6 separate regions of the Homo sapiens genome follow, and all the other regions are linked to region 1. The links are contacts of gene promoters, found by promoter capture Hi-C in blood cells and fetal thymus (Javierre and others, 2016). All regions are on one chromosome and are shown on one strand. The core of a region is centred on a gene start or on the middle of the fragment in contact, and the rest is flanking DNA. Distances in the headings are between cores, read along the strand shown.

Evidence for each region. Contacts are between HindIII fragments. The CHiCAGO score rates a contact against its expected background, and 5 or more counts as called.
Region 2: a fragment that was not itself captured here is called in contact with the fragment with the promoter of UBL3 in region 1 in 1 of 17 cell types (naive CD4 T cells); the score reaches 5.7 in naive CD4 T cells.
Region 3: a contact is called between a fragment that was not itself captured here and the fragment with the promoter of UBL3 in region 1, in 2 of 17 cell types (fetal thymus and naive CD4 T cells). The highest score is 6.5, in fetal thymus.
Region 4: a contact is called between a fragment that was not itself captured here and the fragment with the promoter of UBL3 in region 1, in 3 of 17 cell types (fetal thymus, total CD4 T cells and naive CD4 T cells). The highest score is 6.0, in fetal thymus.
Region 5: a contact is called between a fragment that was not itself captured here and the fragment with the promoter of UBL3 in region 1, in 1 of 17 cell types (naive CD4 T cells). The highest score is 5.6, in naive CD4 T cells.
Region 6: a fragment that was not itself captured here is called in contact with the fragment with the promoter of UBL3 in region 1 in 2 of 17 cell types (naive CD4 T cells and fetal thymus); the score reaches 5.4 in naive CD4 T cells.

What each region holds. Positions count from the first base shown.
Region 1 is chr13:29,848,702-29,853,623 of GRCh38, forward strand. UBL3 (ubiquitin like 3) reads right to left here and starts at 1,916. Exons shown (of 5, transcript NM_007106.4): 1 at 811-1,916. The coding sequence starts at 837. RefSeq lists enhancers at 482-551, 1,022-1,091, 1,762-1,831 and silencers at 1,392-1,691, 1,962-2,071. The HindIII fragment of the contact is 5,102 bases long and covers 1-4,251 here.
Region 2 is chr13:30,552,107-30,557,028 of GRCh38, forward strand. It overlaps a transcript of HMGB1 not described here and the pseudogene PTPN2P2. Among named protein-coding and RNA genes, the nearest start is that of USPL1, 63 kb to the right of the region's middle. The HindIII fragment of the contact is 2,771 bases long and covers 923-3,693 here.
Region 3 is chr13:30,469,830-30,474,751 of GRCh38, forward strand. It overlaps a transcript of HMGB1 not described here. Among named protein-coding and RNA genes, the nearest start is that of HMGB1, 6.4 kb to the left of the region's middle. The HindIII fragment of the contact is 9,123 bases long and covers 1-4,922 here.
Region 4 is chr13:30,452,471-30,457,392 of GRCh38, forward strand. It overlaps HMGB1 (high mobility group box 1), which reads right to left. Exons shown (of 5, transcript NM_002128.7): 5 at 4,234-4,922. Among named protein-coding and RNA genes, the nearest start is that of HMGB1, 11 kb to the right of the region's middle. The HindIII fragment of the contact is 2,316 bases long and covers 906-3,221 here.
Region 5 is chr13:30,392,034-30,396,955 of GRCh38, forward strand. No RefSeq gene overlaps it. Among named protein-coding and RNA genes, the nearest start is that of LINC00426, 21 kb to the left of the region's middle. The HindIII fragment of the contact is 1,470 bases long and covers 2,165-3,634 here.
Region 6 is chr13:30,370,805-30,375,726 of GRCh38, forward strand. LINC00426 (long intergenic non-protein coding RNA 426) reads right to left here and starts at 3,110. Exons shown (of 5, transcript NR_024464.2): 1 at 2,979-3,110; 2 at 1,481-1,570. The HindIII fragment of the contact is 2,047 bases long and covers 1,680-3,726 here.

The DNA.
Region 1 (4,922 bases), core at 666-3,165:
GCACTGTAAGGTTACACGGTTACTGTTAGTCAACCGACTCACAACCTTACCCTTTATAAACAAAACAAAGAAAGGCGTCAATAAACAACAGTACTTTTTGTTTCAAGTTCTCAACACTCAGTGATCGAGGCTCAATACTATGTTTCCTTAGCTTTATGTCTAATATGGAATCTACTATTAATAAATATCTGGCATTAAAAAGCCCTGGAATATTCATTGTAAGTACCAATACAGGGTCAGCCTACGTTTCTGAAAATCCCAAAATATCTTTATATTTCTGTTGCCATCCGTATTCAGACATTTCAAAAACCTCACAGCAAATTCTAACATACTTTTTCTTGAAGAGATGTGCATCCCTGTTCTTGAAAAATATCAAGTTCGTCCCTACTGCAATGACGATCTCGTCTGTGTCATAAAGCAAGATTCCCGTTTCCCTACCTATTCTCTCGTAGGGACACCCGTCCTCAGCTCTGCCCACTGTCCCTGACGTTTTCAGAAACGTTAAAATACTAGTGTTCGGAGGCTTCTAGCGAAGAGGGAGATGTTTTGTCCCCTCAAGCTACCATGATACATTTCCCTACTTCTCCACTATCTTCAATGCTTTAGAAAACACGACCAAATGAGAGAACCCATATTAAAAGCAGTACTTCCTAAAAGGGGGAAACCAGAAGCTCCAACTTCTCCAAATCGCTCAGCACAGTGGCTTTTCGACAGTCCCCAGCAAATCTTCGCCCCACGCCTGCCGTCTTTCCGATTAAATAAGATTGGAAACCACAATTAAATCAGTGTCATAACTTATCCGTCACTTACCATATCCGCCGGGACATTACTGGACATCTTGCCGTTTGATATACACCCAGATGTTTACGAAAAAAACAAACAAAGAAAAAAGAGCAGAAGTCTTCACGTTACAGAAATAAACCACGATTTTGACTGGTTCGTGATGTGCTTTCTCCCCCAAAAATAAAGTTATTTTGGAGCCAAAGTGCCGGTCAGGCCGAGGTTCTGGTTCGAAGAGGAACAATCCCCAGGAGCTGTGTGGCCGGAGCAGGAGGAAACTCCCGGGACAGCAGAGGCAGCCCCCGTCGTCGTCGTCGTCGTCAACAGCAGCAGCAGCCCCAGGACCGGCCGCGCCAGGTGGACCGAGCCGAGTGACACACGGACATGGAGAGGGGTGGGAGGGGGTTAAATGCGCCTTCCTCCTTTCCCAGCCCCGGCAATGATTCACACTTGCTCCCGAGTCAAGTCCTCATTAAGCAGGAGAAAAATGCCCCAGCGTGGATGTACACAGATAACTATGTAGCTACACATCGACGCGTGAGCCTTGAGTGGCGGCCGAGCGGTGGCCGGACGCTGGCCGCGGACCCTGCAGAGCCGCTGTCGGAGCGCCCGCGCGGACAGCGCGGGGAAACGGCTCAACTCGCGCCGCGGGGGCGAAGAGCCGGGCCGCGGAAACCCGCGCTCAAGGGCATTTAACTAGTTGGAAGCCAAAGCGAAAGACCGGAGCGGGGGACCGACAGCGCGGGGGTGCTCGGGGCCGGCCGGGACACTCCACAGCCCCTCTGGGCTCAGGCCGCGGGCGCCTCCGGACAGCAGCTGGGGTCGGGGCGCATCGTCTCCGGCTCCTCGCCACTCCTCTTCTGCCTCCGCCTTCCCCGCCGCCGCCTCCCCGGTCTCCGCCTTCCCTTCCCCTCCCCTCCCCGGCCTCGCGAGCTCCGGGCGACGCCGACTTCGGCTGGTCCCCGGAAGAGGCCGGGTCCTCCTTCTCCTCAGCCCGGGAATGGTTTCCTCTCAGAGCTTTGTTTCTCCTCCTCCTCCTTCACTTTTCAGTCCCACACGCCGCGGCCGCCTCCTGTCATCGCCTCTCAAACCAACATGGCGGCAGCGGCGGCGGCGGCGGCTGCCTGAGTGCGACTAAGGGAAACGGGGAGAGCACGGGCCCCCCCTCGCAGCAGCCGCCGCCCCCGTCCTCGTCCTCCCTCCGCGGACACCAAGTGCGTCACCACGGAGACCATTCCCTCGAGCATCACGGGAAGTGTAGTCTACGAGGGTGGGGGGGGGAGGGAGCCGCCGAACGCCTCCTCACCCAGCTCCGAAGCCACGCCCCCCATAGCAACAGTTGCGAGGAAAGGAAAGCTCCCTTTCCCTTGCTTTGGACAAGCTGCTGCCCAGGAGTTAAGTGATACCTGCTACCAGGAGTGCTGTGATCATGAGAATTGTTGGGAGAAAATAATTCTGCATAGAGAAATTCCCTTATGCACGATATGCACACAGAGCTAAAATATGCTGTACCTCCAAGCAGAATCATTCATTTTAATTACAGCACATTCTCCACATCCTGCAATCTCAATGCATTTTGTAGAGTGATTTCATCTAGGTCTCCTCAACATTACATTTTGAAGAACAAAAGCAATCATTGATTTCCAATAAGGTCACATAAGTTCAACAGGAACAAGGATCTCATTAAGCAGTGAGAATATTTGAACATGTGTTTCCTTGAAGACCCAGGGCAATAAAGCTACAATCTACTTAACTGAAATTACCAAAACTGTATTACATACAACAGTGTTATTATATCAAATCTGTATCAGGAAATAGCTACTACAAACTTCATGGGGATTCACCAGTTTACCCATCTGGACCCTAAATTCTATTCTATGTAACTCATAATGTAATTGAAAACCTATATGCCTTGCAGTGATTAGCAAATAGGAGAAAATAATGCCATTGTTGAGACACCATTCAGATGGACATTTGTGATTTCTGCATTTTGTTCCTAAATCTGAGGTCAACATCTGAATCCCTATTCATATCTCTTAGTCCTTTGACAGAGTACTTTAGAAAGGGCAGTCTCAATATGATGCCTATATATAAATGCCAATGAATTTAGAGTCTGAAAGCCACCTCTCCAACCTACAGCTGTGTGACCTCATCTGTAAAATGGTCTTGCCTACCTTCCGGGGTAAAGTAGGGGTAGTTATGAGGATGAGTTCATGCATGGGAAATAAATCACTTTGTAAATAATAATGCATCATTTGATATGAAATGTCACTACTCATTCTCTCATTCAGCAAACAAATGTGCCAGGCACTCTGCTAGGCACTAGGAGTTTAAAAATGAGTCACTGTAGCGAACAGCAGCATCATGTGGCAGAAATGCCAAGGTCTTGGGTTGGCAATGGGGGTTATTACATCCTTGTCTATAGGGCTGTTGAAAAGAGGCAGAATCCAGTCACTGTCCTCAGGGAGCTCATTGTCTAGAAGCCTACGTGATTCCCCACAGCAATCTCTCCAGTTGGGTTTCTCATCAGTTGGAAACCCACAGGACATTTAGAGTACCTGCCTCTTGAGTAGCCTGGGTGGAGAAATTCCAAACACTCCTAAGGGCCTATATCACCCTGAGGAAGATAGATCAAATTCTCCGAAAAACCAAAGGCCAGAAGAGAAGAGAGGCCCAAATCTCACTGTGATTAGGCTTCAGGACTTTGTCTAGATATTTCCAAGTCCATAGTTACGTGATTTTCCATGGCCTTTGTTACTTGGTTGCTCATTTGCAATGTTTAGCAACCACAGAGTCCCCCTACCCCTACACCAGCCCCCCAGGAAATAAGGGCAGGTGAAAATACTTCAATTGACCAATGAGCTCAGAAGGAATATTGGAGCACATTTTGAAAGCTCTAACTCACAGAGTTAGTCCCTCCACCATACCCTTGACTCCAACTTTTATCCAATGACCTCCCTGGCCATGGCACTGCCTGGCCATGGCACTGCCGGGCCTAAGTGCCACTGTAAGTAGAAAGGCAAGAGTTGCTGTTTGCTGCAGGTTACCACTGCCACCTTTACAAAAGGCAATGTCTTTCAAAAGTCGCTGTGTTTCCAATTACTCTTCTAAGAGGGGCTGAGACATTATTCTCAATAAAACTCATTATAACTCATCCCTAACATTGTTAAGGCATGAGGTAACATTATTGGACACAGTTGCAGATTTTTCCACTCTTTCTTTTCTCTTTGCTTCCCAGCTCAGGCGGGTGAGGTGGGAGGCTGTAGAAAGGAGTTCAGCTGTCCCAAGCAGGAAAAGGTAGCATCTTCTTGACACCAGGAATCTATTGTCAGCATCAGTTGGAAGAAAGTGAATGACACAGCATTTTTGTAATGGGAAAAATAACTTCATAGGAAGTCAAAAGACCTGGCTCTGCCACGAATTAGTTATGTGACCTTTTGCCTCTCTGAGTTTCAATTTCTTCATCTGAGAAGCTTGAACTAAATCTCTAAGGTCCCTTCTAAGAGTCTATGAGTGTCAAGTCCTGGAAAAATAGGGCATGACACCGATGGCCTGTTAAAAATATCTTCCCTAAGTGACTACTTATGGGTAGGAGGGATTTTGGGGGAACAGGGAAGGTGGAATGATGACAACCTAAAATTAGATTTTGGCGATGGTTGTAGAACTCTGTAAATACACAGGAAACCACTGGATTGTACACTTTAAATGAGTAATTTTTTATTTGTTAAAATGTAGCAAAATACACATAACATAAAATTTAACATCTTAGTCTTTTTTACATTTTCAGTTCAGTGGCATTAAGTACGTTCACACTGTGCAACCACCACCACCATCCATTCACAGAACTCTTTTCATCTTGCTCCCTGAACTCATTAAGCACCAACTCCCCTTTCTGTCTCTCCCAAACACCATTCTACTTTCTGTTTCTATGTTTTTTTACTACTCTGAGTACTTCATATGAATAGAATCATATGGTATTTGTCTTTTTGTGGCTAGCTTATTTCACTTAGAAAAATGTCTTCAAGATTTATCCATATTATAACATGTCAGGATTTCCTTCCCTTGTATGGCTGATTAATTTTCCATTGTATGTATATACCACATTTTATGTATTCATTTATCCATGGATAGACACGTCAATT
Region 2 (4,922 bases), core at 1,058-3,557, 700 kb after region 1:
CTCCTCTCCTTTTTTTATTTCAGAAAATTTAAAAAAGTTGTAAGATTAGTGCAATAAACACACACATATCCTTTAGTTATATTCACCAGTTATTAACATTTTGCTACATTTGTGTTCACTTGCTTTTCCCCATCCCCAAATATTTACTTTGCTGAATCATTTGAGAGTAAGTTGCAGACATTATGACACTTTACTCTTAAATTTTTCAGCAAGTATCTCCTAAAAATAGGACACTCTCTTACATAACCACAAGGATCATACTTAGGAAATTTAATATTGAAATACTAAAATTTAATTTGAATATAGAGTTGATGCTCATATTTCTCCTCAGTTGGCTGACTTCTATTTATCTTTCAAGACTAAGCTCTAGGAAAATGACCTCCCTTCTCCCCACACCCCCTCTCTGTCCACACACAGAATACACTGGGTATCTCTCTTCGATACTTTTACTACCTTTTTGTATACTTCTATTGAAGCACTTAGCACACACTATCATATTGTCTATTTTCTTTTCTGTCGTATCTGAGACTCAGCTAGACCCATTTTAATTCTTCTATCACTTCATATACTACCCAGCATTCGTTGGTGACTGAATGGATAAATGAATGAATGAATGCATGATGAGACATTGAAGATTCTCATTCCACTCTCTCATTGTAACTGGTCATGTGTCTCTAAACATTCTGAGCAATATATCACGTGTTCTCAATTTCACCTCTTATTTCAAACACTGCTATGGTACCCAGGTCTCTGTGGGCTTCTTCTACCTTGTGCGGATGCAACCTCACAGCACCTGCTTTTGGCCTCTGCCCCTAGTTTCTGGCCCCAGGGCTACATTGGAGCTGTGACACAGGAGTCCCATGGGAACCACTTGGCACTCAGATATGGACAATCTGGAAATGCAGGACAGTTAAGGCCTGTAAGCTTGCCCTGACCACTGAGGGACAGGAGCTCATAGAAAAAATGCTTGTCTCATTTTTAGCCCAGGGTGGCCAATTCTGAGATGCATGTTAAAAGGTTCCTCAGAAGCTCCCACAGGATCAAGTAGCAGATATTCATAATGGTTGCCAATTTGAAAGGGACCCTTGGGTTGGCTTTCTCTCCTTCCGGGGGGTCATTCTTCTGTCTTATCACAGTCTATTCCTTGGTGTCACATTCCCAAATAAACTCCCTACCTACCTCCAAGTTGTTTGTACAGGCTTTGCTTTCGGGAGAGCCCAGACTAAGACAATGTGGTAACGTAAAAGACTGGTGGCTTGGGAGCCAGACAGACCTGACTTTGAAACCAAGTTTGCTCATTCACTAGCCATGACCTTGGGCACATAATTTAACTTCTCTCAGCCTCACTCTCTTCACTTTATAATGAAGATAATACTTTATAGGAGTATGGTAATGACTTCATAGGGGTATGGTAATTAGAAATTTACCAAATATATATATGAATAGAATATATACAACTTCCTTGAGTAATGATTGACTATAATAAACCACATTGAGTGTCTGTCCAGCTTAGGAGCCAACCTCACTCTTCCATTTCTCTTAAGATTCACTATTTGTCCCAGCCATGCCCACCATCATTGAGCGGGAGTTCAAGGAGTTGGATGCTCAGCATCGCTGGCAGCTGCCGTACTTGGAAATTCGAAATGAGTCCCATGACTATCTTCATAGAGTGGCCAAGTTTCCAGAAAACAGAAATCGAAATAGATACAGAGATGTAAGCCCATATGATCACAGTCGTGTTAAACTGCAGAATACTGAGAATGATTATATTAATGCCAGCTTAGTTGACATAGAAGAGGCACGAAGGAGTTACATCTTAACACCGGGTCCACTTCCTAACATGTGCTGCCATTTCTGGCTTACGGTTTGGCAGCAGAAGACCAAAGCAGTTGTTGTGCTGAACCGCATTGTGGAGAAAGAATCGGTTAAATGTGCGCAGTACTGGCCAACAGATGACCAAAAGATGCTGTTTAAAGAAACGGGATTCAATGTGAAGCTCTTTCAGAAGATGTGAAGTCATATTACACAGTACATCTACTACGATTAGAAAATATCAATAGTGGTGAAACCAGAACAATATCTCACTTGCATTATACGACCTGGCCAGATTTTGGAGTCCCTGAATCACCAGCTTCATTTCTCAATTTCTTGTTGAAAGTGAGAGAATCTGGCTCCTTGAACCCTGACCATGGGCCTGCAGTGATCCATTGTAGCGAAGGCACTGGGTGCACGGGCACCTTCTCTCTGGTAGACGCTTGTCTTGTTTTGATGGGAAAAGGAGATTATATTAACATTAAACAAGTGTTATTGAACATGAGAAAATACTGAATGGGTCTTATTCAGACCCCAGATCAACTGAGATTCTCATACATGGCTATAATAGAAGGAGCAAAATGTATAAAGGTAGATTCTAGTATACAGAAACGGTGGAAAGAATTTTCTAAGGAAAACTTAGCTCCTGCTTTTGATCATTCACCGAACAAAATAATGACTGAAAAATACAATGGGAACAGAATTGGTCTAGAAGAAGAAAAACTGACAGGTGACCGATGTACAGTAAATGCAAGATACAATGGAAGAGAACAGTGAGAATGCTCTACGGAAACATATTCTAGAGGACAGAAAGGCCACCACAGCTCAGAAGGTGCAGCAGATGAAACAGAGGCTAAATGAGAACGAACAAAAAAGAAAAAGGCCAAGATAGACACCTAATATTCATGACTTGAGAATATTCTGGAGCTATAAATTTTGAACCACTGATGTGCAAAACAAGACCTGAAGCCCACTCCAGAAACTAAAGTGAGGCTTGCTAACCTTCTAGATTGCCTCACAGTTGTTTGTTTACAAAGTAAACTTTACATACAGGGTATGAGGAGCACCCACCAGCAGAAGACTTTGCAGAACCTTACATTGGATGTGTCGTTGTGTTTTTTTTTTTTTTTTTTTTTTTTTGAGACGGAGTCTCTGCTCTGTTGCCCAGGCTGGAGTACAGTGGCGCGATCTCGGCTCACTGCAAGCTCCGCCTCCTGGGTTCACGCCATTCTCCTGCCTCAGCCTCCGGAGTAGCTGGGAATACAGGCGCCCGCCACCAAGCCTGGCTAATTTTTTGTATTTTTAGTAGAGATGGGGTTTCACCGTGTTCGCCAGGATGGTCTCGATCTCCTGACCTCGTGATCCGCCCGCCTCGGCCTCCCAAAATGCTGGGATTACAGGCGTGAGCCACCGCATTGGCCTGTTAAGTGTTTTTAATGGGTGTATGAAACGTAGAAATATGTAAAAGAAATAAATTAGGAGAGATTAATTTGTGTTGTACTGCCATTCCTACTGTATTTTTATACTTTTTGGCAGCATTAAATATTTTTGTTAAAGAGTCAAAAAAATTTACTACTTGTCCCATCAGTTTCCTGGGATGGGTTCATGTACTCACAATTTTACTAGATTTTGTGACTATTAGCAACCACAATTCTAGCTACTGCATTGACTATTACACTAATATACAGAATAAACAATGCCTATAATTATTTTTAAAAAGAATCATCCTAAATTTACAAAAAGACAAACCGCATTTCCATAATATATTGTCTAAATTTCAGGAAGAAATTCTCAACCTTTGAATGACAGATTTAAGAAAACTAGTTTAGATATCAATATCTCATTGGAATATGTTGTTTTGTTTATACCTCAGGTTTTCAAAGCTTTGGGACCTCAAAAGTAGTCCTTATTTAAAAACTGCTACTCGTAACCATAGTCTCCATCGTCAAAAAGGAATGTATAAGGATTATTATGCTTGAAATATTAATCTGTATGGGTCTTACAAGATACTCCAGGTTGCTTATATGCTTAGTGGGAAATGAGAATTATTCAAAAGAAAAATTCTATTTTCCCAATGGGAGAAGTGTCCAAAAGTTTCAAAGATGTCAGAAAAATCAGCTTTTGGAAGCTGCTGCCACAATTGTCAATAAGCAGGAGATACCAGTATGTCTTCAAAGAGAGAATTCATTGAAACAAGTCATTGAGGCTGGGCGTGGTGGCTCACGCCTGTAATCCCAACACTTTGGGAGGCCAAGATGGGCAGATCACCTGAGACTGGGAGTTTGAGACCAGCCTGACCAACACAGTGAAACCTTGTCTCTACTAAAAACACAAAAATTAGCCAGGTGTGGTGGTGAGCAACTGTAATCCCAGCTACTCGAGAGCTGAGGCAGGAGAATTGCTTGAGCCCGAGAGGTGGAGGTTGCAGTGAGCCGAGATCCTGCCACTGCACTCTAGCCTGGGCAACAAGAGAGAAACTCTGTTTCAAAAAAGAAAACAAAACAAGTCATTGATAGTATAACGAAGAGATATCTGCATCCCATGTCTACTGCAGCACTATTCTCAATAGCCAAGATATGGAGTCAACCTAGGTGTCCAACAACAGATGAATGAATGAAGAAAATGTGATATATACACACTATGGAGTATTATTCAGCCATAAAAAAGAGTGAAATCCCATCGTTGATGGAATATAGATGAAACTGGAGGACATTATTTTAAGTGAAAAAAGCCAGGAACAGAAAGTTAAACAGTGCATGTTCTCACTCATATGCGAAAGCTAAAAAAAGTTGATCTCATAGAAGTAAAAAGTAGGACAGAGGATACTAGAGGCTGGGACGAGAGTGACAGAGAGATTTGTTAAAAGATACAAAATTATAGCGAGATAAGAGAAATAAGTTCTAGTGTTCGACAGCACTGTAGAATGACTATAGTTAATAATAATACAATATATAGTTTCAAATAGCTGGAAGGATATTGCACATTCTCAACATAAAGAAATGATAAACATATGAGATGGTGGATGTGCGAATTACCCTGATCTGATAACTATAAATTATATGTATGGAAATATAATTATGTGCTCTCAAGAATATGTACAATTGGTATTT
Region 3 (4,922 bases), core at 882-3,381, 620 kb after region 1:
CATGTTGGCCAGGATGGTCTCCATCTCTTGACCTTGTGATCCGCCCGCCTTGGCCTCCCAAAGTGCTGGGATTACAGGCATGAGCCACTGTGCCCAGCCCCAGCTAATTTATTTTTATTTTTATTTTTTGTAGAGACAAGGTCTCTCCATGTTGCCCAGGCTGGTCTCAAACTCATGGGCTCAAGTGATCCTCCTACCTTGGCCTCCCAAAGTGCTGGGATGACAGGCATGAACCACCGTGCCTGGTGCTGGCTATTTTTTTTTTTGTAGAGGCAGGGTCTCTCCATGTTGCTCAGGCTGGTCTCAAACTCCTTGGCCTCCCAAAATGTTGGGATTACAGGCATGAGAAACTGAGCCCAGCCCCTATCTTTGAATCCCAAGCACCTAGCAGAGTACTTGGCATACAGCAGGCATTAAATAAAGCCCGTTGCATAAATGAATTAATAGCTGAAGGAGTACGTATTGCAAATTATTGTTTTAACCTTCCTCTTCTATCTTTAGATCTAAAAGCATTTAGGTCTTTCTAAATCAAAAGGCAGGAAAATAGAATAAGAAGCGAATGTTAGGATACTAAGATTGAGGATAGGTGCCAATTACATCTCATTGACGTAACTTAAAAAGGGAGAGGCACAGTTGGAGGGTGAGAGGGGATCTCAAATGTAGAGAAACACATATAGTCTAAGCATTTACCAGTTTCCAATTAGGCCAAGATTATTCCTTGGTGGATACAGTGAACTATGGCAAGCCAAATTAGACTTTATCACAGAAAACTGCAAGATTGTCTGCCCAAAGATTGTTACCAATTGGCTTTTTATTGTTTTATTTTATTTTTTTTTTGAGACGGAGTCTCACTCAGTCGTCCAGGTTGGAGGGCGGTGGCGCGATCTTGGCTCACTGCAACCTCTGCCTCCTGGGTTCAAGTGATTCTCCTGCCTCAGCCTCCCAAGTAGCTAGGATCACAGGCGTGTGCCACCATGCCCAACTAATTTTTGTATTTTTAGTAGAGACGGGGTTTCACCATGTTGGCCAGGCTGGTCTTGAACCCCTGACCTTAGGTGATCCACCCGCCTCAGCCTTCCAAAGTGCTGGGATTACAGGTGTGAGCCACCATGCCCAGACTTATTTATTTATTTATTTATTTATATTTAATTAATTAATTAATTTTTTGAGACAGAGGCTTGCTCTATTGCCCAGGTTGGAGTGCAGTGGTGTGGTCTCAGCTCACTGCGACCTCCACCTCCCAGGTTCAAGCAGTTCTTCTGCCTCAGACTCCTGAGTAGCTGGGACTACAGGCACGCGCCATGGCTAATTTTTGTATTTTTAGTAGAGACAGGGTTTCATTATATTGGACAGGCCGGTCTTGAACTCCTGACCTCGTGATCCACCTGCCTTGGCCTCCCAAAGTGCTGGAATTACAGGTGTGAGCCAGCGCGCCTGGCCTATTTTATTTTATCTTTAATTTAATGTTTGTCTCCCATGTTCAACCAAACCAATGGTTGGTTTTTTTGTTTTTTTGTTTTTTGTTTTTTGTTTTTGAGACGGGGTTTCACTCTTGTTGCCTATGCTGGAGTGCAGTGGCGCGATCTCGGCTCACTGCAACCTCTGTCTCCCAGGTTCAAGTGATTCTCCTGCCTCAGCCTCCCAAGTAGCAGAGATTATAGGCATGGGCCACCACACCTGGCTAATTTTTTTTTTTTGTATTTTTAGTAGAGACGGGATTTCACCATGTTAGCCAGGCTGGTCTCGAACTCCTAACATCAGGTGATCCACCCGCCTCCGCCTCCCAAAGTGCTGGGATTACAGGCATGAGCCACCGTGCCCGGCCTTTTTTTTTTTTTTTTTTTTTTTTTTTTTTTGAGATGGAGTTTCACTCTTGTTGCCCAGGCTGGAGTGCAGTGGCACCATCTCGGCTCACTGCAACGTCCACCTCCCGGGTTCAAGCGATTCTCCTGCCTCAGCCTCCAGAGTAGCTGGGATTACAGGCACGCACCACCACGCCTGGCTAATTTTTTGTAATTTTAGTAGAGATGGGGTTTCACCATGGCCAGGCTGGTCTTGAACTCCTGACCTCAGGTGATCCGCCCGCCTAAGGCCTCCCAGAGTGCTGGGATTACAGGCGTGAGCCACCGCGGCTGGCCACCAATGGGCTTTTAAAACTTAAAAGGTGACCAGGTGTGGTGGCTTATGCCTGTAATCCCACTACTTTGGGAGGCAGAAGTGGGTGGATCACTTGAGGCCAGGAGTTCAAGACCAGCCTGGCCAACACGGCAAAACCCTGTCTCTACTAAAAAGACCAAAATGAGTCCGGGTGTGATGGCGCATGCCTGTAGTCCCAGCTACCTGGGAGGCTGAAGCACGAGAATCACTTGAACCCAGGGGGCGGAAGTTGCAGTGAATGGAGACTACACCAGAGTGCCACAGAGTGAGACTCTGTCTCAAAACAAAGATACAAATAAAAAACTCTGACGTAAAAAAAATACGACATGCAAGGCCAGGCACAGTGGCTCACACTGGTAATCCCAGCACTTTGGGAGGCCGAGGCAGGCGGATAACTTAAGGTCAGGGGTTTGAGACCAGCCTGGCCAACATGTTGAAACCGCATCTCTACTAAAAATACAAAACTTAGCCAGGCATGGTGGCGCACACCTGTACTCCCAGCTACTCCGGAGGCTGAGGCATGAGAATCGCTTGAACCTGGGAGACAGAGGTTGCAGTGAGCTGAGATGGTGCCACTGCACTCCAGCCTGGGCTACAGAGAAAGACTCCATTTCAAAACAAAACAAAACAATACAGAAAACAACAACAACAACAAAAATGCAGACTGGGAGCTGTAAGTTTTTCATTGGTTGAAAATATTGATCTCTCCCAATGCAATGAGTCCTAAAGTCAAGCTATATGAATTCTCTTGTCTGCTTTGCAAAACAGGCCAGTTTCGGAAAAGGAGAGGAAACGCTAACCCAAAATGTCTGATGAGGTCAACCATATAACCATACAACCATACTAAGGATCACACATACTGAAAACTTTTTTTTTTTTTTTTAGGGCAGTGAAAATAAAGGAATGAGGCATTTAGGAAAAGAAGAGAGCACAGGTTTGTGAACTCCAGACTAGAAGCAAGGATACTGACATCCAATCCCCTCAATTCACTATGCACGGACCTCTCATAGTCACCGAGGTCTATGCTCAGTTTCCTCAACATTTCCTTAGGGCTGTCACTACCTTAGTCTAACTTGAAAGGATGTTTCATGACTAAATGGAGAGGCAAGAAGAAAGACCAGAGGCGAAAGAGAGGGAGATGGTGCTATATGTGTTCATGTATGGAGAAGGAGAACCTCTTCCCCAGCTGCTTAAGTACCTCCTGCCTCAGCCCGAGTTTTCCGGGGGGAAATCAGCAGCTTCTCCGTGGGCAGCATTGATGATAGCCATCAATGCTATGGCACAGAAAATTGTACCAAAGCTAATTTATATCAATAAGTTCTCTAGAATTGGATGATTTTACTGGTTAGTAAGGGGAAAATATCAGACCTTTCCTTAAGAGGCCTGTCCTCTGGTTAGTCAAAGAATGGTACACATGACGAGTGGAAAACGCAATAGTAAAAGTTCTTACAGAAAGGTGATCTAAGTTCAGAAAAGATCCCTATATTAGGTCTTGATCTCAATAATCACATCAAACATCAAATTCAGCTGCTCTATTAAAACTGCCTTACACCTTCAGAATAAATGCTTATCACACACCCACGCAGATGGCTATAATCAAGGAGATAGACAGTAGCAAGCATGGGTGAGCATGTGGAGAAAGAAACTGGAACCCTTATGCACACTTGTGGAAATGTAAACGGGCAGGTGTTTTGGAAAACAAGCTGACAGTTCCTCAAAAGGTTAAACACAGATAGATAGCAGTTGACCCAGCAATTCCACTCCTAGGTATATACCCAAAAGAAACAAAAACATGTCCACACACACTTGTACATGAATCTTCATAGCAGCAGCATTTGTAACAGTCAAAAAGTGGAAAACACCCAAATGCCCATCAACTGATGAGTGGATAAATCGAATGTGGTATATCCATACACATACATATATATTTGACATTATGCTAAGTGAAAGAGCCCAGACATAAGAAGGCCACATATTGTATGATTCCATTTATATAAAATATCCAGAACAGGAAATATTATAGACAGGGAAGTAGATTAGTGGCTGCCAGGGTTTGGGGAAAAAGAGAGTGCCTGCTAATGGGTATGGAGTTTCTTTTAGGGGTACAAAAATGTTGCAGATTAGATTATAGTAATGGCAGCATGACCTGGTAAATATGCCCAAAACCATTGAATTGTACACTGTAAGTGGGTAAATTACATGGTGTATGAATCATATTTTGATAAAGCTATTTTTTAAAAAGCAATAAATGTCTTACGAGTGGTTTTGGTTAACTAAAGACAGGAACAATGGAACACTCCCTCGCCAACTTTGCCTATTTCTTTCCTGCTGTTCATGGTGTTTAACACCTTGTGAAAAAGATGGTCCTCTTCATTAGGTAGAATTTTCATCTATTATTGGAGTTACATATTCTGTGCTTAAAGTATATTTTTGCTGCAAAATATTATAGTAATTTTAAACAAGCGCTTTTATAGGGATACCGTGGGAGGCTTTTCTGGAGAGCCGGGGGTGACCGTAATGAGTATGCCCAGCCATGAAGGGTTAGGACTGACAGCGTAAACTGGCCCCTCTCTGGCCTTATCTGACCCACAGACGTTTCATTCGGTCAAAGCGGTGTTTTAAAAAGGTAGACATTGGGCAGGTATGGTGGCTCACACTTGTAATCTTAGCACTTTGGGAGGCCGAGGCAGAAGAGGAGTTCAAGGATGCAGTAAGCAGTGATTGAACCACTGCACTCCAGCCTGGGCGACAGAGCGAGATGGTCT
Region 4 (4,922 bases), core at 814-3,313, 600 kb after region 1:
TTCCCCCCACTGTTGTAGGCTTGAACCTTTATAAAATCTTAGAAACCATGACCCTATTTTGTATCCCTTCTATGTAAAATTGTCTGAATAGCCTTTTAAAAAGTTGTTACATTTGGGTGAAAACTTTCCAAAGGTAGCTTGGTAAAATTCACCAAATTTGGCTCATCTTTTGATTCAGTGATTTCCCTTTGAGGAATATATTTATATCCTAAGAAAATAATTATGGGCAAAGGTGTGAGCATAAAGAAAGGATAGTCATGTTAACCTTATATGTAACAGTAAAAAATCATAAACTAAATGTCTAATAATATGGAATTGATTGAATAATTTATGGTATTTTACATTCAGGCACTTAAAATAATGCCCAGCAGAATAAGAATATATGATGACATAGACTTTTTTAATATTTATATTTATTTATTTATTTATTTTGAGATGGAGTTTTACTCTTGTTGCCCAGACTAGAGTGCAATGGTGCGACCTCGGCTCACAGCAACCTCCGACTCCTGGGTTCAAGCAATTCTCCTGCCTCAGGCTCCCAAGTAGCTGGGATTACAAGCACCCACCACCATGCCCAGTTTATTTTTGTATTTTAGTAGAGACGGGGTTTCACCATGTTGGCCAGGCTGGTCTCGAACTCCTGACCTCAGGTGATCCACCCGCTTCAGCCTCCCAAAGTGCTGGGATTACAGGTGTGAGCCACCGCATCCGGCCGACTTTTTAAATTTTTTTAAAGACAGGATCTCACTCTGTTGCCCACGCTGAAGTGTAGTGGCACCATCTCAGTTCACTGCAACCTCCGCCTCCCAGGTTCAAGCGATTCTTGTGCTTCAGTCACCTGAGTAGCTGGCACTATAGGCGCATGCCACCATACCTGGCTAATTTTTGTATTTATAGTAAAGACAAGCTTTCACCATGTTGGCCAGGCTGGTCTCAAACTCCTGGCCTGAAGTGATGCGCCTGCCTTGGCCTCCCAAAGTACTGGGATTATAGGTGTGTGCCACTGTGCCCAGCTGACATAGACTTTTGTTCAAGATAGACTGTGAAGTAGAAAAAGCAGCTTACAAATGCAGTATTTTTAAATTATTAACATTTTTTAAAACATATATATGTATGTATATCTATATGCACACAACACTACAAAAAGACAACTCAATTTAAATATGGGTGAAGAACTTGAATTAGTTCTCCAAAGCATACAAATGGCCAATAAACACATGAAAAGACACTCAGTATCATCAGTCATTAGGGAGACACAAATCAAATCACAATGCGATTCCACTTCACACCTACTAGGATGGCTATAATTTTAAAAAATAGAAAATAGGAAGTGCTGGCAAGGTTGTAGAGAAATTGAAACCCTCATACATCATTGGTGGGAATGTGAAGTGGTGCAGCTGCTGTGGAGAACAGTTTGGCAGTTCCTTAAAAAGCTAGTCATAAAATTACCATATGACCCGACAATTCCACTCCTAGATATATACCCAAAGTATTGAAAACAAGAACTCAAACAAATACATGTACACGCACATTCATAGCAGCATTATTCACAATAGCCACAAGGTGGAAACAGCCTAAGACCTTATCACTGGATGAATGAATAAGGAATTATGGTATATACACACAATAGAATATTATTCAGCCTTAAAAACGAATGAATGGGCTGGGAGCGATGGCTCAGGCTTGTAATCCCAGCACTTTGGAAGGCCGAGGCAGGCGGATCACGAGGTCAGGAGATCGAGACCACAGTGAAACCCCGTCTCTACTAAAAATACAAGAAATTAGCTGGGCGCAGTGGCGGGCACCTGTAGTCCCAGCTACTCGGGAGACTGAGGCAGGAGAATGGCGTGAACCCGGATGGCGGAACTTGCAGTGAGCCGAGATCGCGCCACTGCACTCCAGCCTGGGTGACAGAGCGAGACTCCGTCTCAAAAAAAAAAAAAAAAAAAAGGTTAATTTTATGTTATATGAGTCTCACCTCAATTTTTAAAATCTATCTATATCTATATATCTATATATATTACATGTTATATATAGAAACTGGAAGGGCACATAATATGGTAATAGTCTTGCTGACTGGTAGAATTACAGGTTTTTGTTTTCTTATTTATTTTGTTTCAATAATGTAAGTTTCATTCATAATAAGGGCAACCGATTTTTCAAAAGTTATTGTCGTGTGTAGCATATTGCATCTTGCTTCTACTTCCAGAAGATCAGGCTACAGTCCTAAGCAGCATCTATTATATTAGTGATTACCAGCCCTTTAGAATCAGATAGCCTATAACTTTCTACATGACTGGGAGTATTTTTGTTTGGTTTGGTTTGGTTCAGTTCAGAAATGTTCTGTCCAAGTAAATCAAAGGAGAAAGCCAGAGAAGAACCTCAGTGATGGCAGAATGTACTGGCTATCCTAGCATAGCAAAAATTGTAGCCAAAGCAGAAGAACCCAGGCCTGGAAGTGAGGGGCAATGAGGAAGTTTTCCAGCCTTTTTGTTGCTGTCCTTAAGGGAAGGGGAAAGAGCTCACATCTTTTTTGCACCTACTGTGAGCCTGGTGCTGCTAGAGTGTTTTGATACTGCCATTTGTCCTTGAGCAAGCCTCTGAATCCCTATGGGCCTCTGTCCACTACTCTGTAAAAATGCACAGATTAGACTACGGTAGCCCTTAGACCCCCTTCGCCTGTAATGTGCTAGGACCTTACACTAGTGCTATGCCTTATTCTGTCCCTCCCTGAAAACAGGCTCTCTGGTCAGCCTCTCTGCTTCTGAGCCTAAGTGTGCCTAGCCCCATTCCCTGTGCCCAAGCCCCAGCCAGGCTGATTCCAGGTGGCAGAGCAAGGCCTGGGGAAATGGGGCTTGGGGTGTAGGGGTGGGGGAGCTGCAATATCTTTGCTTTGAGTAGCCTCCAAGTTCTTACTCTTCATCTCTTCCAGGGATTACAGTGGCACCTGAGGCTGTGGCAACTGAGCATCTTGTTTTTCTTTATCTTTAGGAGCACTCTCTCACACTCAACAGATCCTTATTTTATTTTAGGGTTTTTTATTCTCTTACTTGGTTATGTTCAGATCACTTTATAAAATAAGCTCTAATTGAAACCCAATAAACAAAACCAGGGTACAGTCAACACCTGTGAAAAGGAGAAAAAAACCCAAAAAGCAAAAGCTAACAAACAAAATACGGTAAAGCCTCTAATGAGAGATTCTATGTAACGCTAAGGAACTAAGCTTAATTTCACTTTTTTTTTTTTTTTTTTTGAGTTGGAGTCTCGCTGTCACCCAGGCTGGAGTGCAGTGGCGCGATCTCGGCTCACTGCAAGCTCCGCCTACCAGGTTCACACCATTCTCCTGCCTCAGCCTCCCAAGTAGCTGGGACTACAGGCGCCCGCCACCACGCCCGGAAAATTTGTTTGTATTTTTAGTAGAGAGGGGGTTTCACCGTATTAGCTAGGATGGTCTCAATCTCCTGACCTCATGATCCGCCCGCCTCAGCCTCCCAAAGTGCTGGGATTACAGGCGTGAGCCACTGCGCCCGGCCAGCTTAATTTCACTTTGAGCATATAAATACAATTTCATTTATAAGCACATTTGGAGTATGTCCTTTGCCATAAAGTATCATCTCCAGCAAGGAACTGGTGAACTTTATTCCATTTAAGGCAAATCCTCAGAATCCATTCTGCCTTTCCAAACACTTGTCTCCTAAAGGCTAGTATCTGGGCCACACATTTCTCCTTTTGCTACACCTTATTGAACAACTTGCATTTCCAAAACTGTTGGCTGCAGCTTCTGTAAGATTGACATAGAATCTCTGCTAGAAAAGACCCTCCCCAGAATAAAACAAACCAACCAAAAAACTACCACATACTTCCATTTAGGACAGAGTATATCAAAATGAGAAAGAACCTCCTCATTTTCACACAGTGGATTACTTATTTAGTTACTGCAGTAACTTTAGAGAAATAGTTTAGCAGTTTAGGCCAGGAACTGTGGTTCTCACGCCTGTAATCTCAGCAACAAGGCCGAGGAGGGAGGGAGGATAGTTTGAGGCCAGGAGTTTGAGAAATAGTTTAGCAGTTTAAATAAAGCAGTGGCTTGTCCTAAGAGTCTTTCAGTTGATTCTCTCTGTGTTTCTTATTCTGGTCAGGTAGCTCTGGACAAATGACAGTATTTCAGTATTTTAATTTCTCGTTTTTAAAAATAGAGTTATACAGCCAAAGAAAAACCAGTAAAAATCTTGATTAATTGCAAAATCATTGTTAAAATGTTTCACAGCATAAATAACAGCTTTTGTGGGCGGGGGGGGGGGGTGGTGGGGTGCAATTTATCAACATCTTCCAAAATGTTAAATGCAAATGTCTTTTGACTCAGCAGTTCTACTTTTGAGGTATCTGAAGACCCACACATGCCTGAGAGAAATGTACAGATGTTCAGCGCAGTACTGTTAAACAGCAAAAAATAGGAAACAATCTAAATGTCCATCAGTAAGGGAATGATGAAAAATATTATGGATCATATACAAGTGAGATCGAAAAAAGAAAAAATATGTATTATGGAGCACCATACTGTGGAATGTCACGTACATGACTGAATTATGTGACTAAAGAGAACAATGAATATGAGTACATAATTTACAAGGATCTCTCTAATCCCTTTTCCACTTATTTTTAAAATGGTATTTAGTATATCTGCAAAATTATTTATTTCTAGTAGACAAGGCCTCACTATGTTGCCCAGGCTAGTGTCAAACTCCTGGCCTCAAGTGATCCTCCCACCTCGGCCTCCCAAAGTGCTGGGATTATAAGTGTGAGCCACTGTGCCTGGCTTTCCACTGACTTTCTATTTCTGGATTCCAGAGTCTGCATACCCTTGCCCACCACTGCTCATGCTCACTTACAGGTTTAGTCATACTATTGCAGATTTTATTCCT
Region 5 (4,922 bases), core at 1,650-4,149, 540 kb after region 1:
ACAGCCCGGCCCGGAATGAAGCATGGCTAGCATGGCGGACACCAGTCAAGAAATGGTATCAGATGGGTTAGCTCTTCTGCAAGGGGAGATGCTGATGCTTGCACTTGGGCTTCTTCCAGCCAGCTAATTAACACATCTACAGATTGCCTGAACTGACAGCCTCCTTTCCCCCAGACAAACAGCATGCTGATAAGCCTTTCCAAAATCAAAATACTGTCCTGACAAACTAAGGGAGTGATTCAGCAAGGTGAGTCTTTCTGCTGCGCGTGAGGCAAAGGCATAGGACCTAGTCTAGAGGCAGTCAATGGGGTGGCATGCCCAGAGTGAAGGGCATGCCCAGAGTGAAGTATGGCATTAGTAAGGGCAAGGGGGCATCGGCAGAGAAAGTCAGGAAAGATCATTACCATCCAATGGGGAGGAGTGGAACTTTAAAACTGGTCAGGGAATCCTGTTGGCTTCACTCGCTTATTATTTTAGCAGGCAATGAGATCATGGTCTGCAAGAACAGAGCTAAAGAGCTGGGAGCTATAACCACATACTGCTGCAAATAAAGTCAGCTCCAGTATGGAAAGGAACACAAGGCATGGGCTGCATTTGATTCACCCAAGGTTCAAGGTCAGAGTTGTGCCATGAAGGCACCAGTGGAGTTGGGGGGAGGCAGACACACCTGGTTTTGAACTCCAGCTTTGAAATACTTCCACCATGTGTAGGCAGAAAACAATTTCTCTGAGACTTCATTTCCCATCTGTAGAGCAGGAGAAATAATAAGAGTCACTATGCAGGGCTGTCCTGAGAAGCAAAGGGTGTGATACGTGTAATCCAGCGCTTGGATAGGGGGCTGTGCACAAAATTAGTCTGGAACAAGAGCCAAGTCGTCCCTCCTGCTCCCCTCCTCCCTTTCCTTGCACATGGTTTTCCCGGGTGCCTGGCTGACAGAGGAACTGTTCCTGGGGCTGAGTCCTGCGATCCCAATAGAGGCTTTTTATTAAGTAGAATTTACACTGACAACCTATTCCATACGATATGTCCAGAGAGCAAGCTCACCTTAAACAAGCATATTCAACTTTTCTAGAGCCCAGAAAATCACTTTTTGAAATACTTATTATGAACCTGGGGTCCCTAGAAGAAGATTTACCATGAAGTTAATGAAAATGAAACTTCAGGCTTCTCACTTCACCCGTCCCGCAGGGAGGCTCAAGCCAGGGCCCCAGCAGCCTATGCATATGGTCACTCACTGTTATAAACTCTGCAATGGTAAGATGTTTAGTTGCTTCAGATCACTGCCTCTTTCCACCTTGACTTCCATTTGGCCACATTTCCTCTCCTTTTGGGTGGCTTTGGAATGGCCATGGGCATTTTGGGGACCTAGCAAAAGAACCCAAGTTAGAGCTACCTTTAGTTTTGGGTTGATTATGATATACTGATACAGTCAATTTCTTTCTTTCTTTTGAGACAGGGTATCGCTCTATCACCGGACTGAAGTGCAGTGGTGTGATCAGGGCTCACTGCAGCCTAGACCTCCTGGGGGCAAGCAATCCTCCTGTCTCAGTCTCCCAAGTAGCTGGGACTATAGGCACATACCACCACACCCAATTAATTTTTGGATTTTTTTTGTAGAGACTGGGTTTGGCCATGTTGCCCAGGCTGGTCTCAAACTCCTGGGTTCAATCAATCTGCCCAACTCAGTCTCTCAAAGTGCTGGGATTACAGGTACGAGCCACTGCTCCTGGTTGATGCAGTCACTTTCGTATAGCCAAGCTACTGCTTAGAAAAGGTTTCTGGGGATATTCCTACGTTCCGACTTAGCTGGCATGGAGTCGTAAAGGCTCAGACTCAAGCATCATATCATGATATGTGCATGTCCCCAGAGCAAGGGGGGGAAACAAGATGTGAAATAGGGTCCTACAAGAGTCTGGGGCAAAGCTTTCCAATCATCAAACTTGTACAATTGTAGGTACACTTAAACGGATCACTGGTCAAGATGAAAGTTCTCACCTTTCAGGAACATAAGAGGCCATCAATGAATATCTGCCCCAAAATGTGGGATAGAAAGGATTTTAGAGATATGTTAGTCAGTTAATTATATGTTTTTCTAAATTTAGTGATACTTTAATACCTAATTTTGTATGTTTGAATTTATATTCTCTTCCTTCCAAATTACATAAGCTTCAGGACCTACGAAACCTAGATTCACCCCTTTGGCTCACATGCTCTTATTTTAGCTTTTTTTTTTTTTTTTTGAGACGGGGTCCCACTCTGTCACCCAGGCTAGAGTGCAGTGGCGCAATCTCAGCTCACTGCAACCTCTGCCACCCGGGTTTGAGCAATTATCTTGCCTCAGCCTCCCGAGTAGCTAGGATTACAGGCACACACCACCATGCCCAGATAATTTTTTTTGTATTTTTAGTAGAGATGGGGCTTCACCATGTTGGCCAGGCTGGTCTCGAACTCCTGATCTCAGCCTCCTAAAGTGCTGAGATTACAGGCGTATTTTAGCTTTTTGAAGAGGGTAGGATGGAGAAAAAGATGAAGAGGGAGAAAACCAAACTTCCTAACTAAATTTTGTGAAATAATTATATTTCAGTGACACAGTGAAATTCTTTGTATGGTTGTTCTTTCTGAAAAGAGCGAAATGAAATAGGATTGAGAATCCTGACTATACCAATAGATTTTCTTTTAAGGCTGCGTCTGTTCTGCAGTGTTTGGGTAAAGCACTTTCTGTGCATTGTGAAATAAAACACGCCTAGATTGTTAAAAAAAAAAAAAAAAGGCTGTCAATTTTCCGTTAAAGCCTTTTATCTGTACTTTACCCCTTCCCTCCAGCAGATTCTAAACTCTTCATTCACACCCACTATTGTCACTTCCACACTAAATTAAACAAACTCAGTTCGATCACTGCAGTTTTTGGAAGCACAAAGTAACACTATACAAGTTAGAGAAAGTGAAAGAACTTCTTTCTAAATTCAAACGGCTGAACAAGGAAACATTCAGGTAGGCAGAGTCCTTGCAGTTTCTGTTCTTACCACAGAAAAACTTAAAGAAGCCACATTCTGGATGTTGTTTTTCATGTTAACAAAAAGTCCAGACGGACCCCATAGCTCACAGTGCTTCTTCTCACCCCTCGCCCCTCCCCAAACTCCATCGACCCAGAAGCATTAATTTCATAAGGAAGAGAAAACTTGGCTTTCTACTAAATTCAGCTCTGAATTCAGCCCTCCATTTCCCAAGGGCTAGGACCCAGAGCCAAGTCAGCCCGCCCCTCCCTCTCGCTCCCAGACCTGAGCTGCGGATGCTGCAGCCCAGCACTCCTCCAGGTTTGGAAAAGGCGGCTACGCTGGGCAAGTTTGGAAAGTTCTGGGAGAAGAGCGAAAGGAGGGAGTGTGTGTTGGCTCTTTTCCTTTCCTTGGAAAGCACTTAACAAGAATGACACCCTACCCCCACATCAAATGCCTTCTCTTGCAGTCCTGGTTGTTTTATAAAAACTGAGTTCGTGTCTTTAATGCCAGGATTTTCTTCCTGGTAGTAAGCATTGGCTAATGATTGCCAGTCGGCTTCTGCGTCTGTGTGCCATGTGACCTGGACACGTGACTTGGAGCCGGCTGTGGTTGTTACTTGTATTTGAATAAGAAGATCAAGCTTATTATTGCAGTAAAAGCCTGTGGGACTTGTCTGTGCAACGTGATTCCCCAGGCGGGTTACACAACGCACCGTACAGCCTCGTCTTCCAGAGGCTCCAGTTGTTTCGTAAGGTAAAACAAACACGATTTTATATTTTCCAAAGTGAAAGTCCATTTTCCCCCTGGAAAGTGTCTGATGATCCTGGAAAAAGATGAAGCCTAGTTTCTCCAAACCCTGTTAGTCCCCTTGGTACAGTAAGGTAGAACTACTGCCCAGCACACAATTAGAGAAAAAAAAACAAATCCAGTCTCCTTTTCAAATAAAGATTTAGGATTGACGTTAGAGAAAAAAACATCCAGTCTCCTTTTCAAATAAAGATTTAGGATTGATGTTAGAGAAAAAAACAGATCCAGTCTCCTTTTCAAATAAAGATTTAGGATTGATGTTAGAGAAAAAAACAGATCCAGTCTCCTTTTCAAATAAAGATTTAGGATTGATGTTAGAGAAAAAAACAGATCCAGTCTCCTTTTCAAATAAAGATTTAGGATTGACGTTACCTTTTACTATTTCCCCTTCTCCCTTCCTAAAAAGTCTTCAAGATATGCTCTTATCTACCTATAAAGAATTTACACTAAAAATGACGTTTTTAAATTTAAAATTTAAATGGCACGTTCATTTTGCGATTTTTTTCCCTTAGATTTCTACAACATTAATAGTTAAATTTTTATTGTCCACATACCCTGTAAAAGAGACATCAGAAGGATTCATCTTTTTGTAGGTGAGAAGAGCTGGATGTTCCCTTCAGGTTAGGATGTATGCGTGCATATATATATGCAAATATATGCAGATTTACCCCAGGAGGGCTTTTCCACGACCAAGAAGGTGACATCTTTACCATGCATGTTTTAATACTTTCCCCACCCCAATGCTGAAGAAGCCCTGCTATAATTTGCTTTCTTCTGCCTCTAAGGGTGATGACTCAACTACAGAGGCAAGATCAGGGAGGAACAATAGCTTTGGTTATCTCTAATGAGCGATCCAATAACCATCAAACCAGTGAGTTCTCTCAGCCCAAGGCTGGCGCCTCTGTGTGGAACCGCAAAGGGCACTTTTCTTTCTTTCTTTTTTTTTTTTTTTTAACTTTTATTTTAGGTTCAGGGGTACATGTGCAGGTTTGTTACACCGGCAAACTCATGTCACAGGGGTTTGTTGTACAGATTATTTCGTCATGCAGGTACTAAGCCTAGGACCAATTAAACATTAACTCTCCATTTTCCATTCCCCTACCCGCTGGTAACCACCAT
Region 6 (4,922 bases), core at 1,453-3,952, 520 kb after region 1:
GTGGCCACAGCTAAGAAGCTGAGCCTTTGATAAGTAGACAGCACTATTAGGCCCTTAAAGGTCACCCATGCCTTGCACCATAGCCAACAGAGGTGAGAAACATGGCTTCTGTTCCAGGTGATCCGCTGTATACCCTGTTCTGATAGTTACTGAGTACTTACCAAGTGTATGCCACCTACTGACTGTCTTACAAAAGGTGCAACTTGGCATCATAAGAACATGGGCTCCACAGTCAGGCATAGGTTCAAATCCCAGGTCTGCCACTTAGTAGTTGCGTGACCTTGAGCAAGTTACCAACCTTTCTGTGCCTCAGCTTTCCATCTGTAAAATGGGACTGACCACAATAGTACCTCCCTCATAGGATTGCTCTGAGGAATAAATGAGTTAACAGAAAAACAGTGCCTGGGATGTAGTTGGGGCCACACAAGTATTAGCTGTCATTATTCATGTGCATTAGTTCATCGACTTCTCACATCACCCCATTTTACAGATGAGAATACTGAGGCTAAAGAGACAAAGAAGCCCAGACCTAAGCATCTCCAGCATCCATGTCCTCAACCAGTGAGGCCATGCATGGCCCAAATCCCCTCAGCCATGCAGCTAGGCCTCCATTCCCAACGCTTAAACTGGGCAAATCTTCCACATCCTTATATTGATATCACCTATCATTTTAGTAGGAAATGAGCTCTGAGTTGATTCAAAGGTAGGAAATCCTCCTACTTAAAAACAGTTCGTTTCATAAAAACGAAAACCCTTGTTAATTAACACTCCATTAACAGGAAAATGATATGGTGGCAGACTGAGGGCTCAGGGTTCCAAGTTTTGACTCAGTGTTGTCAACAAGCACCTCTTTTTGCCCAGGGAATATCAGAGAATTGTTCATACAGAGACAGCGACCGCAGATGGGGCACTAGTGCCTTCAGCTGCAAAAGGTCGTCTGGCAGGAAGCATGTTGGTCTCCTGGCAGTTTCTTGGGCCATGTGACATAACCGCCAGGTTATACTTCTGCAATTACAGTCCCCAGGGACCTGCCGCATGAAACAGACATTGGTTGTGATCCTGTAAAAAGCCGCAAGCAGTGGCTCTTTCAGTACAAGGAAACCCTTGGGACAGAAAAGTTTACTTTTGCTCAGGCTTTATGGTGACAGCCAGCGTGATCAACAGGAATGCTGCAGTTGGGTGACGCATGAGGCTCAGGAGCCTTTGCGCTTGACTTTGAAAGATTATAAATACACCAGGCTCGCCAAGCATAGCCAGTCAGTTACAAATTACGAGTCATCTTTCGGTTGTTGCTGAACTTCCTTTACACCTCTTGTTTTGAACACAGTGAGCAAACAACGTCTAATCTTTTGGCTGTGGAGTTCCAAGTACACCACAAGGCATCGGGACACACCTTTACCCCAGCTGCTTTGTGTGGTTGCAGGTTAACCAGACATGCAGCTAGGAGTTCACCTAAAACCTTCCTTTCCCCGGTACATACCTTGGTGTTGATTTGACAGCTGGATGCTGAGTATTGATCCCAGTGTTCAGGGATAGTTACTTCATTAAGACTTCTGAGATCCCCCATTTGCTTGAAGATAAAAACAGGCAAAGGTATAAACAGATAAACAGTCACACAAATAAGTAGCTGTGTGGGCCATTACTTTTAAAGCATAGTAGATGTTATTTGTGTTTGGAGAAGCTTAATGATACACTCAAGAATCCAATAGTAGAAACTGTTTGCTTTCAGGAAGAAAACGTTATATCAGGAAGGTATGTTTGAAGAAAAGAACTATATAACAGCGATCCACAATACACCTGTTCATTTGTAGCATAATAGTTACACCTGCTCCCTGGGGCTTTTTTGAGATTTCAGTCTTTGGTGTAAGACACACATACACACATGTGCACACACAATGGTAAGCATGCATGCTCTTCAGCTTCAACCCTCAGTGCGCAGTAAAATAAAAAATATAGTTGAATCATCTGTCTCAGCCCCAGCTAGAGCCCACGTCTTCCAACATGAATTTTAAAATACCTTTTTGCCTTTTAAAATATGCTGTAGAGGCCGGGCGCGGTGGCTCACGCCTGTAATCCCAGCACTTTGGGAGGTCAAGGCAGGCAGATCACGAGGTCAGGAGATGGAGACCATCCTGGCTAACAAGGTGAAACCCCGTCTCTACTAAAAATACAAAAAAGATTAGCTGGGCGTGGTGGCAGGTGCCTGTTGTCCCAGCTACTCAGGAGGCTGAGGCAGGAGAATGGCGTGAACCCGGGAGGCGGAGCTTGCAGTGAGCCGAGATCGCGCCACTGCACTCCAGCCGGGGCAACAGAGCGAGATTCCATCTCAAAAAAAAAAAAAATGCTGTAGATGAGTTTTAGTTTATCCGGGTCCTTTGTAATTAATCTCTGCATTCATCATAATTGGAAGAAAAGCTCAAAGTAAGAAAATAGCTTTCCTCCAAGTTTATTGCAATCAGAGAAAAATACAATTTAAATGTTTTTGTTTCCCATTTCTGTTCCTTACATGCATTGTCTAGAGTGGTTCCTGGTCTATAAGCCAGTGGGTTGAGATACCTGACCAGACCACCTTTTCAACCCAGTTCTTTCTCCTCTTTGTATTTCTCCCATACAATACAGTATTGAATATTTCATAACCTATGGGTGTATGTTTTTGGCAATGTGGCTAAGTCAGGCAGCATTGAGGACTGTCCTGGTGACAGTCCGGTGCAGCCCTCACCCAGGCTCCCACATTCACACCCCTCCACTCTCCAGTGGGCTGTGTAAGTTAACGGCAAATAAATGGCCCAGAATGGCTTCCTGTTAGAGAAAAAAAGGGACAAAGACTTCTGCCCTTAAAACTCTGGTAACAAAAGTAATCTAGTGGAAATCAACATTACTAGGAATATCCTATGATTTTGGTGGTGTTGAGTTCAAAGACAGCATGGCCGAATTGTGACCATCCACCCAGTCACATGAGGCAAAAACCCAGGCCCTACCTGTGTCCTGACCTCCAGCTTCCTCCCCACGGCCAGTTGGTTAGAACGTGTAGGGAGTGTACCTCTCCCAGCCGTGGAATCCCCTCACCATCTTCACCCCTTCCCCACCTTCAAAGACTTTCATGGCCGAGTGTGGTCTGACCACACTTGATCCAAAGCCCTTCCTCTGAGCTCTCAGCTCCACGTCACAACCTCGTGACCACGTGCCTCTCACTGTCATGTGCTTAGATATGTGTGTGTGTGTCCACCTCACCACACACTGTGAGATCCTTGAGGGCACGTTGTCTCTTTCATTTCTGTGTCTCCAGTGCCTAAAATGGAAAGTGCTCACTTACTAAATAAATATACAATATAAAAAATAATTTTTATCCCTTGTCCCATTTGAGATGGAAAATGAGTAAAGTTTACAAGTATTAATATAGTCAGCATCCCACTAAGACCACACAGACACTGAGATGAGCAGAGGATGCTGAGGAGCAAATGCAAAATAAACTATGAGAACTGTGACAGCTTCCAGTGCTCTTCATTATAAATATCAGCAATTGCTAATATCCAATAACATGTCACACACTCTACATTAAATCATCACAAGTCTCTAAGGCAGGTGTTAGTTTTCTCTTTGTACAGCCCAAGAAGCTGAGACAAGAGTCACACAACCAGCCAATAGAGAGAAAAGATTCAAACCCGGAGACCTTCTGTCTCTAATCCCACCCTCCTCCCACTGTCTCCTGCTGCCTCTCTGTTTCAAAGCTTGGCTCTGAGACTATGAGCACTGCCAAAATTTTACAACAGTTTGCGTATGTCATGGTCTGCAAAAGCTGTGGATGGCACTGTGGTGGCAGCCTCAATAGAAGGCTGAGACTACTTACCAGAGGGAGGATTTCCTGAGCTCCGATCACACCTGCTCTTTGTTCTCTCTCTGTCTGTCTCTCTGTGTGTGTCTCTCTCTCTCTCTCTCTCTCTCTCTCTCTCTCTCTCTCTCTCTCTCAATACAGACAGGGTCTCACTCTATTGCTCATGCTGGAGTGCAGTGGCGTGATCATAGCTCACTGCAGCCTCAAAGTCCTGGGCTCAAGTGATCCTCCTGCTTCAGTCTCCTGAGTAGCTGGGACTACAGGCATGCACCACCAGGCCTGGCTAATTTATTTATTTTTATTTTAATTTTGTAGAGACAAGGTCTCGTCCCTTCCCCAGACTGATCTCGAACCCCTGGGCTCAGGAGATCCTCCCACCTCGGCCTCCCAAAGTGCTGGGATTACAGATGTGAGCCACCACTCCTGGCCCACACCTACTCTTTATCCTCAACCCACACCCCCAGGCTCAAACTCAAAAGGAAGGAGCAAACCCTAGAAGCTGCGTAAAACACACCTTGACCTAAAATGTGCTCATGACCAGGCAACTTGACTACATATTCTCCTCGACCTACGGTGGAGTGACATCCCTATAAAAGCCATTGTAAATTGAAAATATTGAAAGTCTAAAATGCTTTGAATACACCTAACCTATCGAATATCAGAGCTCAGCCTCGCCTCCCTTAAACGTGCTCAGAACACTTACATTAGCTTACAGTGGGCAACATAATGTAACACAGGCCTATCTATGTTATAATACAGTGTTGAGTATCTCATGTGATTTATTGAATACTGTACTGAATGTGAAACAGAATGGTTGTCCGGGTACTCACCATTAGCTGACACAGCTGAACGCACACTGCGCCTGAAGAGCGTTTGAAGCATTGAACTAAAATTAATTGCTGGGTGATGGGGATGCTACAACGACAGGGTCATCAATTTCTCTCTCTTCTGCTGAGGCTGGAGAACCACGGGTAGAAGGCGCTGGAGCATCAACGCTTGATGGTTTGGCAGGCGTAGTGCTCTTCCTTCAGGAAGGCATCAGGTGTCCGTGGTTTACCCTTCTGATGGCAGGGCTGCCTGGGTGCTTTGG